Regions from separate parts of the Homo sapiens genome. Here all the other regions are linked to region 4. The links are contacts of gene promoters, found by promoter capture Hi-C in blood cells and fetal thymus (Javierre and others, 2016). All regions are on one chromosome and are shown on one strand. The core of a region is centred on a gene start or on the middle of the fragment in contact, and the rest is flanking DNA. Distances in the headings are between cores, read along the strand shown.

Region 1 (2,700 bases), core at 17-2,516, 190 kb after region 4:
TGAGCAGGGAAGAGAGCTAGGTGTAGTGGTGCATACCTGTAGCTCCAGCTACTTGGGAGTCTGAGGCGGCAGGAGGATCGCTTGAGCCCAGGAATTTGAGGCTGTAGTGCATGATGACTGTGCCTGTGAATGCACTCCAGCCTGGGCAACATAGTGAGACCCTGTCCCTTAAAGTAAAAAAGAAATTGAACAGAGAAAATGACCTTGGAATATAATTTCCAAAGTTGACTACTCCAAAGGTCTTAATTCTTACTTGAATATACACATTCTGCTTGTGCTTCCTAAATAACTGACCATCACATCTGCCAGGTGTTATGTTGGGAATGGCAAGCTTTCCCCCATCTGGAATGCCTTTTTCTTTCTTGTCCACTGCTGGGCTCCTTTCCACCCTTCAAGATCCGGCTCAGCTCTTCTTTTTGTTTTGAGATGGAGTCTAGCTCTGTCGCCCAGGCTGGAGTGCGGTGGTGCGACCTCAGCTCACTGCAACCTTCGCCCCCCGGGTTCAAGTGATTCTCCTGCCTCAGCCTCCCGAGTAGCTGGGACTACAGGCATGTGCCACCATGCCCGGCTAATTTTTTGTATTTTTAGTAGAGACGGGATTTCACTGTGTTAGCCAGGATGGCCTTGATCTTCTGACCTCGTGATCCGCCTGCCTCAGCCTCCCAAAGTGCTAGGATTACAGGCATGAACCACCGCGCCCAGCCAGCTCTTCTTTTTGTGGGAAGCCTTCCCTGAACCTCTCTCCTCATCCCTAACATGGTGTTCTCATAAGACCCTCTGCCAACTTCAGCCATTGTGAGTTTGTGTAATCTGATTTTCTGCCAAATCTGATTTTCTTTTTTAGAAAATAACATTTCTTACTTATTTTTTATAATCGACAAATAAAACATGTATATGTTTATTGTGTACAACATGTTGTTTTGAAATGTGTATACATTGTGGAATGGCTAAATCAAGCTCGTTAAGATTGAGTTTATTAAAAAGTATGTGATACATCTGTCTTAAATCTCAGTTCCACTTCAAACATTGAACAGAGTGAGTCCTCAGGCAGTTAAGTTTAATGGGACACAAGAAACCCTCAAGTGGGTAAGATCTGATTGTATCTGACACTCTGCATCAGCAGTGTGACATTGCTCGCCTAGTTAGAATATTCTGAGGTTCAAATCCTCCCATCTCCCTGGCCCGGTGACCCAAGCTGCCTTATTGATAACTTTTGCCTCTTTTGTTCACAGAGTTCTTATCATTTTTGTCACATTGAAGGTTTCCTTTCATGAGTAGTTTCGGGAAGCCAGCTTTATTTAGCTTCTCCCTCCTAAAAGGAAAAGAAAAATCAGAGTTTATTTCATTTCCTTAATATTTTGTAATCTAGTTCAAACAGTGACATTCCTCAGGGTAGGTTTCACTATTAACTCCTCAGTGGAAATGAAATTGTATAGCAGAAAAATAAAAATGAAGCAAATGTGAAGTTTCATTCAAGCATGGGGCAAACATTGGTCTTCCTTTGGCCCATTTATCAACCCTGGGCCCGTTTGTCAGTTTCCAATTTTATAAGCATGTCGCGGGAGTAAAGGGAGAGCAGCAGGTTATTGAAGAGAGAAGTTCTTGTCATTACTCACAAACTCTTTCTTTGACAAAAGGCTAAAGGTCTTAGAAAAGGGAAAAGGAGGAGGGGGAAAGCCAGGTTTAACCACAGGATGCAGCACAGGTTTGTATTAGGATGTGGTCCGAGTTACAGGGCCAGTAGGCCTGGTTGTATCTGTGCTGGGGCCTTTGTGGCTGGGATCGAGAGAAGCTGGGCAAGTCATGAAATTAGAGTGATCCTGGCTTATCCAGTTTTGTTTAGGTTTCATAAAAAATACTTTGTGTATTAACGAGGGCTCTTTTAGTTGCAAAACAGAGAAAACCTAGCTCCAAGTGGCTTAGGCAAAATAAACACATAAATCTATCGACCTGAGAAGTCCAGCAGTATCATATTTCAGGCATGTCTTATTTTAGGGATTCAGTCATTAGGGCTTGCACATTTTCTCTCTGTCTCTTGGCTTCGCTTTCTTTGGTACAGTCATGCTGGGCAGGTTATCTCCTCATGGTGACCCCTTGAAGCTCTAGGCTTATATCTTCTAGTTCAAGAAAAAGAGAAAACAGAGCACCACTCTTACCTTCTGGCAAGTCTCATGGTTGGCTTCATGTGGGTCATAAGCTTTTCCTTGAACCAGCCACTAGAGCCCTGGGGATTTGCTACTGTGATTGGCTGTGCCTTGGCCATGTGCCCCCTGAAATAAGGAGTACAATCATCTCTGCCTGAAACACATGGGCCTAATCCCTAGAGTGTGCGCTCTGCGCTCCATAGGTATCTTTACTTTGTTGGTTTTGTTCACTGCTATATCCTCAGCACTTAGAAGCATATATGGCATGGAGTAGTGCACAAAAAATATCTGTTGAATGATTGAATGGGTGTAGGGGAAGGCTGATTCCCCTAGAAAATTTGCGAGGCTTTTAACAGAAAAGGAGGAAACACGTGCCAGGCTATAATAGATGTTCCTTCATCATGCATGCAGGAGAGCAATGACAGCAGTAATATTAGCTCTTGTCACACTCTTAAATCTGAACTTATACCCACCTCTGGATTAGGAATCGATCCTCTTGAATTGATGTTGGAGCTTCATAAATCACACTCAACATAGCATGATGAATAGACGTGGA
Region 2 (2,700 bases), core at 10-2,509, 240 kb after region 4:
TTATTTATTTATTTATTATTATTTTTTTTTTTTTTGAGATGGAGTCTCGCTCTGTCACCCAGGCTGGAGCGCAGTGGCGCCATCTCGGCTCACTGCAAGCTCTGCCTCCCGGGTTCATGCCATTCTCCTGCCTCAGCCTCCCGAGTAGCTGGGATTACAGGCGCCCGCCACCACGCCTGGCTAATTTTTTGTATTTTTAGTGGAGACGGGGTTTCACCTTGTTAGCCAGGATGGTCTCCATCTCCTGACCCTGTGATCCACCCACCTCGGCCTCCCAAAGTGCTGGGATTACAAGCATGAGCCACCACAGCCGGCCAGGATTTTGCTATTTTAAAGGATTGTTGGATTAATCCTGTATAAAATTGAGCAGTAAAAATAGTCTATAATTTATCTAAGTGTGGATTTTTATTTGTGGGAATTTTATTTTTTGTTGAGAGCACTTTTGTTCGATGTTAGAGATTGAAACCAAATATTATATTTTAGTTTTCTCTGGTCACTCTTCTTATGAATTAATTGTCCCGTAAGGATACGCGCTAAAGTTGAAGCTCAAATCTGAACATGAAAGGATTCATTATGCACTATAGGCTTTTCATACCTATTAATAAGTCAATGGTTTGAATGTAGATCAAGAATTTAAGGGATTACTTTCACTAATTTTAATGTTAAAGCAAAATATCTGCCACCTGGTGTCAGATTAAGACTCAAAAGGTGTCAAAAGAAGGGGATATATGATAGGTTTTCTTTCTCTACTTTTGAAACATTTTCTAGTACTAAATTAGAGATATTAACTCCTTCAGGCCTCTTAAGTTCTATTGCTAAATAGAGATCAGTGCTCCTTTGATGACCATATAAGGAAAACGTTTCTGGGAAAAATATTGCAGAAGCCATGAGCGGTTATGTTATCTAATAGCCTCAGAATGGGAAAATTTAAAGAGAATGGAAAGCAGCTGACATAACCATTTTCCCAGAGAAAGCTCCTCCTGCTTCTGCATAAAGATGTATAATGTAATCCTTAGAGATCTCACTTCAATTATTGTGTCCTTTATTCGAATGAATAAGTAGAGAATTTAGTTTTTGCACTTGTCAGTACTATAACATGCCTTCTCAGCTTAAAAGTAATGGAGGAAATTACTTGTAAAAAAATTAATGAAAGAGATGAAAGATAAGAGAATTCAGGTTTAAAAAGTCACTGGTTTGTTTCTCAGTATGTTTAAATTTTAGGATTAATTTTTTTTCTTCCTCCTAGAGTTCGAGTCTCATAAGAAAGAATCGTGTTAATAGCCCCCGTTATGTTTTGCTGGAGTTTATCAGTCGGTAGAAATCTACTGAGCAATAAGAAGATGTTTCATAGCCTTGGTATAGGAATCATTGCGAGCTTGAAGGTTCACCCATACTAGGAACTTCTAAGGTTACAAGTATGTATGAAGGAAAATGCTTCTTCTCTTGAGACATAAACTGTAAATAAATGGCACAGTCAGAAGGGGACTGTTTAGTTATTGGACCTTGGAGAATTCTTAGAAGACATAGGGGCAAATGTATATGTACTGTCTGAGAGAGAGGAAGCCCTCCAATGTTTGGGAAGGGACAGTCTTTGGTTTTGCTGGACTTAAGGTGATGGTTTGCCTGGGACTGAGGGGTTTCCTGGCTTGTGGGACTTGCAGTGCTAAAACTGGCCAGGTTCCAGGAAACGAGGGCAGTGGGTTACCCTTAACTAACGTGACCTGCTCATTGCAGGTCACTTAGTGTGCCTGGCCTCTACCTACCAGTGGTGCCTCATTGTGGGAACCCATCACTCCCATACATTTTCATGTGTCCCGAGATAGGAAGTACCCCTCGGGAGAACTACTCTGAGTCTAGCCCGTGGTGTCAGAGCATTCTAGTCTCACTGGCAAGACCATTGCTGAAGTAGAATGGATGCATGAAGCTGTCTTCAGTCTTAAAACAAACAAAACCCAAATGCAGTTAGTTTAAATGCCTTTGGTTCAAAAAAAAAGGAGGAGTGGGGAGAGGTTGCAATGTTAATCTAAAATCAATGCTTGGAAAAAATGAGGAAATTGATTCTGAGGAGAATGAGAAAAAAAATGAGATTGAAACCATACTAAACGGGGCATCGAGTGCAGTGCCATGCGAAAGGAAGTCTTTCATTTTGTTCATAAACGTTTAAGTCAAGTTCTCACTTATTCATGATCCTTATTAAGGAGTAATTAGTGGTTCCCATATAATCTTCAAATTAATTTATATAGTCATGCCAAGATGTCCAACTTTTAGAAGATTTGGGAGGGTAGGAGGATTAAGGGACTTCCAGGATAATGGGCCCTCATCCCTCTTCCCCATCTCCTTTGAATAAACGGTTGCTTCCTAATGAGAAAACAATCCTGTAGAAGGGATGAGGATGAGGGCAGAAAAAAGATGGATCCCCTCTGACGTAGGCAGGTTTAGGGTAATATCAATACATGTAAGGGCAGGATATGTTTTGAAAAATCCCTGACTAATTACAGGGCTGTTATACAGCACTTAAGTATGTGTTATCATTATATGTGAAGAATATAGATGCAAGCACAATTTTATTGATTGAAAAAGCCCAGCCTGATTCTATTACTTAAAGGGATTTTAAAGATATTATATTGGGTAACCTTGGGTTGAAACATGTTCCCTTTACAATCCAAAACTGGTCAATGTATTCTTTATTTAACCTGATTG
Region 3 (2,700 bases), core at 193-2,692, 130 kb after region 4:
CTGTGAAGAATCAATCTTTATATTCAAATAAATTCAAATTAACAGCTGCTATTATAACACTGTTCATTCATTCTTTCACTCAGCTATATATCCTCCAAGAAAATACACTGGATCATTATGCGTTCCATAGGTTCCAAGAGCTAAGGAATCAAAGTTAAATAGGACACCCCCCGATGTTTGATATTTTGTTGCATAGTGGGAGACTCAAACTTATCAAAAATAAGTACTGTGTGATGAGGGATGTTGGAAAGATAAGGGTTAAAGTTTCTTAGCATGTAATTTACTTTGAGAGCATTGTTGATTGGTGTTCTTTTAAGTTATGAGGTGTGGACATACCATGTTACGTTTTTAAAATGTGTCTAATAGGTTTATCTGACAGAAAATGGCCCCTCCTGACCTATCCATAACTTCCTTTTAAGTCTAAACGTGTGTCCTGTGATCCAATGTTTGTCTAGAGTTCCGTGTCATGTTCCTCCAACATACTGTGTCATGTTCCTCCAATATACTAAGTTCCCTGTTGCCAGTAACTGTGTCACAAGTCTTTTTCCTTTCTATACCTACTACAATCTGCTGTATTTGTAGTAGGTGTCAAAGTATCGGTAGTTCATTTGACTTGCTTTTAATTGTAGTTTTTTAAACGAATGACAATATTTCACCAATTTATACTTTCCTTAGTACTTCATTGACTATCAGTTGATATTCTATGATCAATGCAATTTTAATTCTGTCTTGTCATATTTGTTTAGTTAAAAAAATTTCAAGTTAAGATGGTTGAAAGATTATATAATCCCATAGAGATTTTTATAGTAAAAGTTTAAAATTCTGGTACTTGTGTTGGTTGGAAGTAGAACCTTCACTGGACAAGGTAAAACCCCTGTGTATAAATGTTTGGAGGCTGTCTTAAAGCTTTGTTGAGATGGAAAAAAAATTTTATATAACTAAGTATCAATTCAGGCATTTGACACAATGAATATATTTTGGAAATAGCCATTTATGGTTCTAGCATTAAAGGTGATTAGCTAGCTATGAATTTACCTCCTTTATACGCATGCATTACAAAGTGGACCCTACTTTTAAATTTCTCAAGAAGGTATTCTGGAAACAGCTTTTGAGAATGATTTCTTGGGATTTTTTTTCCCTTTTTGTCTTTCCATTTCTGAAACCTGAATAGAATTGTGCCATGTTCTTTGCAGAGCTGTGGTGATTAGATTGTACAGTTTCACACATGTGTACACACGTACACACATACACACACACAGACACACACACACTGCTGTGCAGAATCACTGTCCTGTTGTGTGATCTTCAAATGAAGCAAGAGAGGAATAATCTGGGATTGACTGAGATAAATTTATCTCAGCTCTTCAAAATACCATGTGAGCATAGTGTAACTCACTTGGACAGCTGTGGAATGAAACTCTTGTTTTAGTGGCCATTAGATACGTCAAGAGAACTGACTACGTAGAAGAATGTGTGGTAAAGGTAGTTTGGCAATTGGTCAAATTTGAAGTAGCATTTACAGGCCGAGGCAGGTGGATCACCTGAGGTCAGGAGTTCCAGGCCAGCCTGGCCTACATGGTGAAACTCCTAAAATACAAAAATATCTCCTAAATACAAAACATCTCCTAAAACAAAAAAACTCTCCTAAAAATACAAAAATTAGCCTGGTGTAGTGGCAGGCACCTGTAGTCCCAGCTACTCGGGAGGCTGAGGCAGGAGAATTGCTTGAATCTGGGAGGTGGAGGTTGCGGTGAGGAGAGATCATGCCACTGCACTCCAGCCTGGGCAACAAGAGTGAAACAACATCTTTAAAAAAAAAAAAAAAAAAAAGGAGCATTTACATCACCAACTGAAATTAAATAATTGTCCCCCAAGGTGATGTGTAGCCTGACTTTTGTGACTGAGGGATTGATCTCTTGACAAGTCTTTATGAAATAACACCACAGGAGGGAAAATTATATGCAGGCATCAAGCTTTGCATTTATTTTGCAAGCCCTCTTTATCGGGTTTGTATGATCTTGTTGTGTACAGCTAACAAAAGGTTACTTCTTTGTCATGAAAGCCGTCCTCAGTTTTCAGAGACAGTGGGGCACCACAGAGACTTTCTTTCTCTGCATCCACATTTCTATTAATGTCATTACTGCATTTGATTCCTTTATGAAGCCCTTTTGGTCACATCAACAGTGCATTCTAAGCTCTCTATCTTAACTTCTAGCTTTGTCTGCAAAATTTGTGTGGTTAGCCTGAGGCATATGCAGATAAATTGCCCAGGTTCAGTGTTCTCAGACTGGGAACTAAATGTGCTGCAGAATGCTGAATTGATGGGTGTAGCTTTTCAGCAATATTGATGTTTCTACAGTTGAATGTAAATCTTTGGATGCCTTGGTTTGCATTTTCATAGTCGTGTAGTTCCTGACCACTGGTTTTCAAACTGCCTCGTCTCTCTGAAAGCTGTGTTTCAGTGGAAAGACAAAGAAAATTGTTCTTCCTCACCCACTACTCTTCTGCCCATTCACAACAGTAAGAATCTGAGCATGTCTCTGGCCACACGCAAACAGTGGCAGCTCCCGATTCACAAGCTGCTTACATTTCCAAAGTGAGGTTGTTGTGAGGTCAATTAGTGGTTTAGAACTCTGAATGGGTTGGCTAATGGTAGAAACTAATATAAAGAATAGGTGAGCTGGCCGGTCGCGGTGGTTT
Region 4 (2,700 bases), core at 185-2,684:
TGTTTTTATGTTGTAGGAAGGAGGGACATGATTGCTGGCCTCCAGCTCGGTCTGAGGGAGATAATTGTTAATTGGAGAGGTTATTGGAGTGCAAAAGTCAGAAACCACCTTCCACAAGGCAGCCCCCCTCCCATCCCTTCGTAACAACCTCACTGAGTCTGCATGAGGGTCCCTCTATACACTCTATTCGCACCTTGTGCATTTCCCTCCCAGCACTCTACCTGTTTGAAATAACCGTTTTGAGTGATTATTTGATAGGTGTCTGTCACCCGGCCGGACTATAAATTCCATGAAAGCAGGGGCCTGGGCTTTTAAATTCACCACTATCCTCAGGCCTAGTACAAGACCTCGTGGATCCTTAATAAACTCATGTAGGAAAGAATAAAGTAATGCCCACCCCACTGCATAGAGTCCTCATAGGAAGAATCACGTGAGTTTTTAATTCGAGATCCTTGGTAGGACTGTGTGTGTGTGTGTGTATGGGTAGGGTTCTCTAAAGTGTATAGTCCTCACACCAGCAGCATCAGCATCCCATGGGAACTTGTTAGATATACAGATGCTTGGGCCCCACCACATATCTACCCATTCAGAGACACAGATTGGGACTCAGGGATTTGTACTTCAGCAAACCCTCCAGGCGATTCTGATCCAGGCTCCAGTTTGACAACCGCTGCCCTGGTGAAGAGCAATCCTAAGGATACTTTGGGGATGTCATTCACAGCGTCTGGGGCAGAGCACGGTTTACCGTTTACTGAGACTCGACTCTTATCAGGGCTTTGTTTGCACGCTTACAATTAGAGTTATAGATAATATTATTGGCAATGGAAAGGAAAACCTCCTTTTCCTCTCCGGCAGTTGTATCTCTCCCCTGATATTATCTTGTGATTTCCGGATCAAAGAAGAGTGTGTGTGCGGCATATGCCTGGGGGTGGGGATAGGAGGTAGAAGGAAGGAGAAGGTGTCGCCTACAACTTGCAGTTAGCCTGGGTGGGTGTGGGCAGCTCTCCTGTGGGGACATTTTCCTATTGCAAGGGAATGCTGGCGTGTGGGAGAAAAGCCAGGGCTAAGGTAACCCAACTGCCTTTTGGTGCAGACAGACACCAGCCACACGGAGGGGATACCCGGGCTGCACTGCACGTCCTGCCTTTGGGTCTTACTGGGGGACCCATTGCCTCCCTGCGTGTTCCCAGGCGATTGGGGAGGGTGCCTCCCGCAGGCCCTGCCGCCTCCACCTGCAGGGGTCGCCCTGGGAGCGCGGCCCGCCTCCTTCTGCCCGGCCCCCACCCCCCGGCCCCGCCTTTCTCCCATTCGGCCCCCTCCCCGCCGGGTCCCTCCAGCCTTCCCTCGCGCAGCCGCTGCCAAAGCCTGGAGAAGTGGAATCTCGTCAGCGCCGCTCCCTGCGCGGGACTCGCGGAACGGCACTGAGCATGCTCAGTTGCCGGAGCCCGTTCTGGTCTCAAGTAGGAAGCTAGTGCGCTGTAACCGCATCTGATCTGGGCGCTCCGGGAAGGGCGAGACTGGAGCAGAGCCGCTGGGCGCCGGAGCCGAGGCGAGCGCCGCGCGCACCACTGGTGAGCCCAGCTTTCTTCCTTGCCTTTGCCCCGGATTCCGGGGCAGCACGAGAGTGCTGGGGAAACACCCGGGTAGCGGCAGCAGCGTGCGGCGAGCGGCTGCGGGTTCCCCCGGCGGCTTCTCCTCTGCTCCCGGCCCCGGGGCTCCGCGGCCACTGCTGCCCGCTCAGCCGCAGCCACACCTGCAGCAGCTGCCGCGGCATCTGCAGCGGGGCGCCTGCTGCGGAGTCCCGTGCGCCCTGCGCCCGCGCCGCAGGGCCAGTGGCACGGCGACTGCGGGCTCACTCTCCTTGACTTCCATCCCTCCCGCTTCCCGGCGCCCTCTTTCCCTCAGCAGCCCCGGCTTGGCAGGGCCTGGGGCGGGGGAGACCGGGTTGGAGGCGGTGCGCCCGGGTGGGGACTGCAGAGGGGAAAAGTGAGGGTGGGCGCCTGCGGGAAGAGCGCACACCCCCTTGTCCTGGCACCGGCCTCCGCTGTGCCGCTCGGCTGTCTCTCCTGGGCGGCAGCGCGCTCCTGCCGGGGAGTTGGAGCCGGGGTTGGCTTCTCCACGAGGGGTTCAGAGGCCAGCCCATGAGACATGAAAGGGGGGAAAAGTTCCTTTTCCCCCTCGGTGGCAGAGAGAGCGTTTAACTAGAAAATGGCTGTGCATAGGGGACCGACTCCAGGAAACTGGCCACTGGGACCCGAAAGCCCCTGCGCTGCCCACCGGGCGGAATGGAGGGTGGTACGCTAGAAATGACATTTGTGCGGCGAGAACAGAGCTGGACGGAGGGAAGGATGCTGAGACCCATAGAAACAATGAAAGGTGGTCTTCACGTCGGTGAAGTGGTGTAGACTACGGGTTCGGGGCAAACAGCCGAGGGAGCATGGGACTAGAATTCAAAAAAATAAATTAATTTGGATAAATCATATGTGGAGTTGTCACCGACCGTTCTGTAGTCAAGTTCTGCGCGGTTTTAGAGCCACGACTGTCACAGACGTTTTTGGATGGATTGAGTGGTTGAGGAGGGTTAAAATTGAGAGGAGAATAAGGTCAGTGTCGGAAGCTCCAACTGGGCTCTCGGAGGGGACAGTTTGTTTAAGTCCCTCAGTCACTGGCTTTACATTGTGTCTAATTACTTACGTGAAA

Evidence for each region. The method cuts DNA at HindIII sites, captures the fragments that hold promoters and counts their contacts. A CHiCAGO score of 5 or more calls a contact.
Region 1: a fragment that was not itself captured here is called in contact with the fragment with the promoter of APBB2 in region 4 in 1 of 17 cell types (endothelial precursors); the score reaches 9.4 in endothelial precursors.
Region 2: a fragment that was not itself captured here is called in contact with the fragment with the promoter of APBB2 in region 4 in 7 of 17 cell types (M2 macrophages, endothelial precursors, M0 macrophages and 4 more); the score reaches 22.9 in M2 macrophages.
Region 3: a fragment that was not itself captured here is called in contact with the fragment with the promoter of APBB2 in region 4 in 1 of 17 cell types (endothelial precursors); the score reaches 6.0 in endothelial precursors.

What each region holds. Positions count from the first base shown.
Region 1 is chr4:41,027,879-41,030,578 of GRCh38, reverse strand. The region is part of intron 5 of APBB2 (amyloid beta precursor protein binding family B member 2); the gene reads left to right. Among named protein-coding and RNA genes, the nearest start is that of APBB2, 190 kb to the left of the region's middle. The HindIII fragment of the contact is 1,866 bases long and covers 334-2,199 here.
Region 2 is chr4:40,969,763-40,972,462 of GRCh38, reverse strand. All of the region lies in intron 6 of APBB2 (amyloid beta precursor protein binding family B member 2), which reads left to right. Among named protein-coding and RNA genes, the nearest start is that of NSUN7, 220 kb to the right of the region's middle. The HindIII fragment of the contact is 2,943 bases long and covers 1-2,700 here.
Region 3 is chr4:41,079,829-41,082,528 of GRCh38, reverse strand. The region is part of intron 3 of APBB2 (amyloid beta precursor protein binding family B member 2); the gene reads left to right. Among named protein-coding and RNA genes, the nearest start is that of APBB2, 130 kb to the left of the region's middle. The HindIII fragment of the contact is 1,067 bases long and covers 909-1,975 here.
Region 4 is chr4:41,213,276-41,215,975 of GRCh38, reverse strand. It overlaps APBB2 (amyloid beta precursor protein binding family B member 2), which reads left to right and starts at 1,434. Exons shown (of 18, transcript NM_004307.2): 1 at 1,434-1,571. RefSeq lists silencers at 1,170-1,339, 1,750-2,059. The HindIII fragment of the contact is 4,637 bases long and covers 1-2,700 here.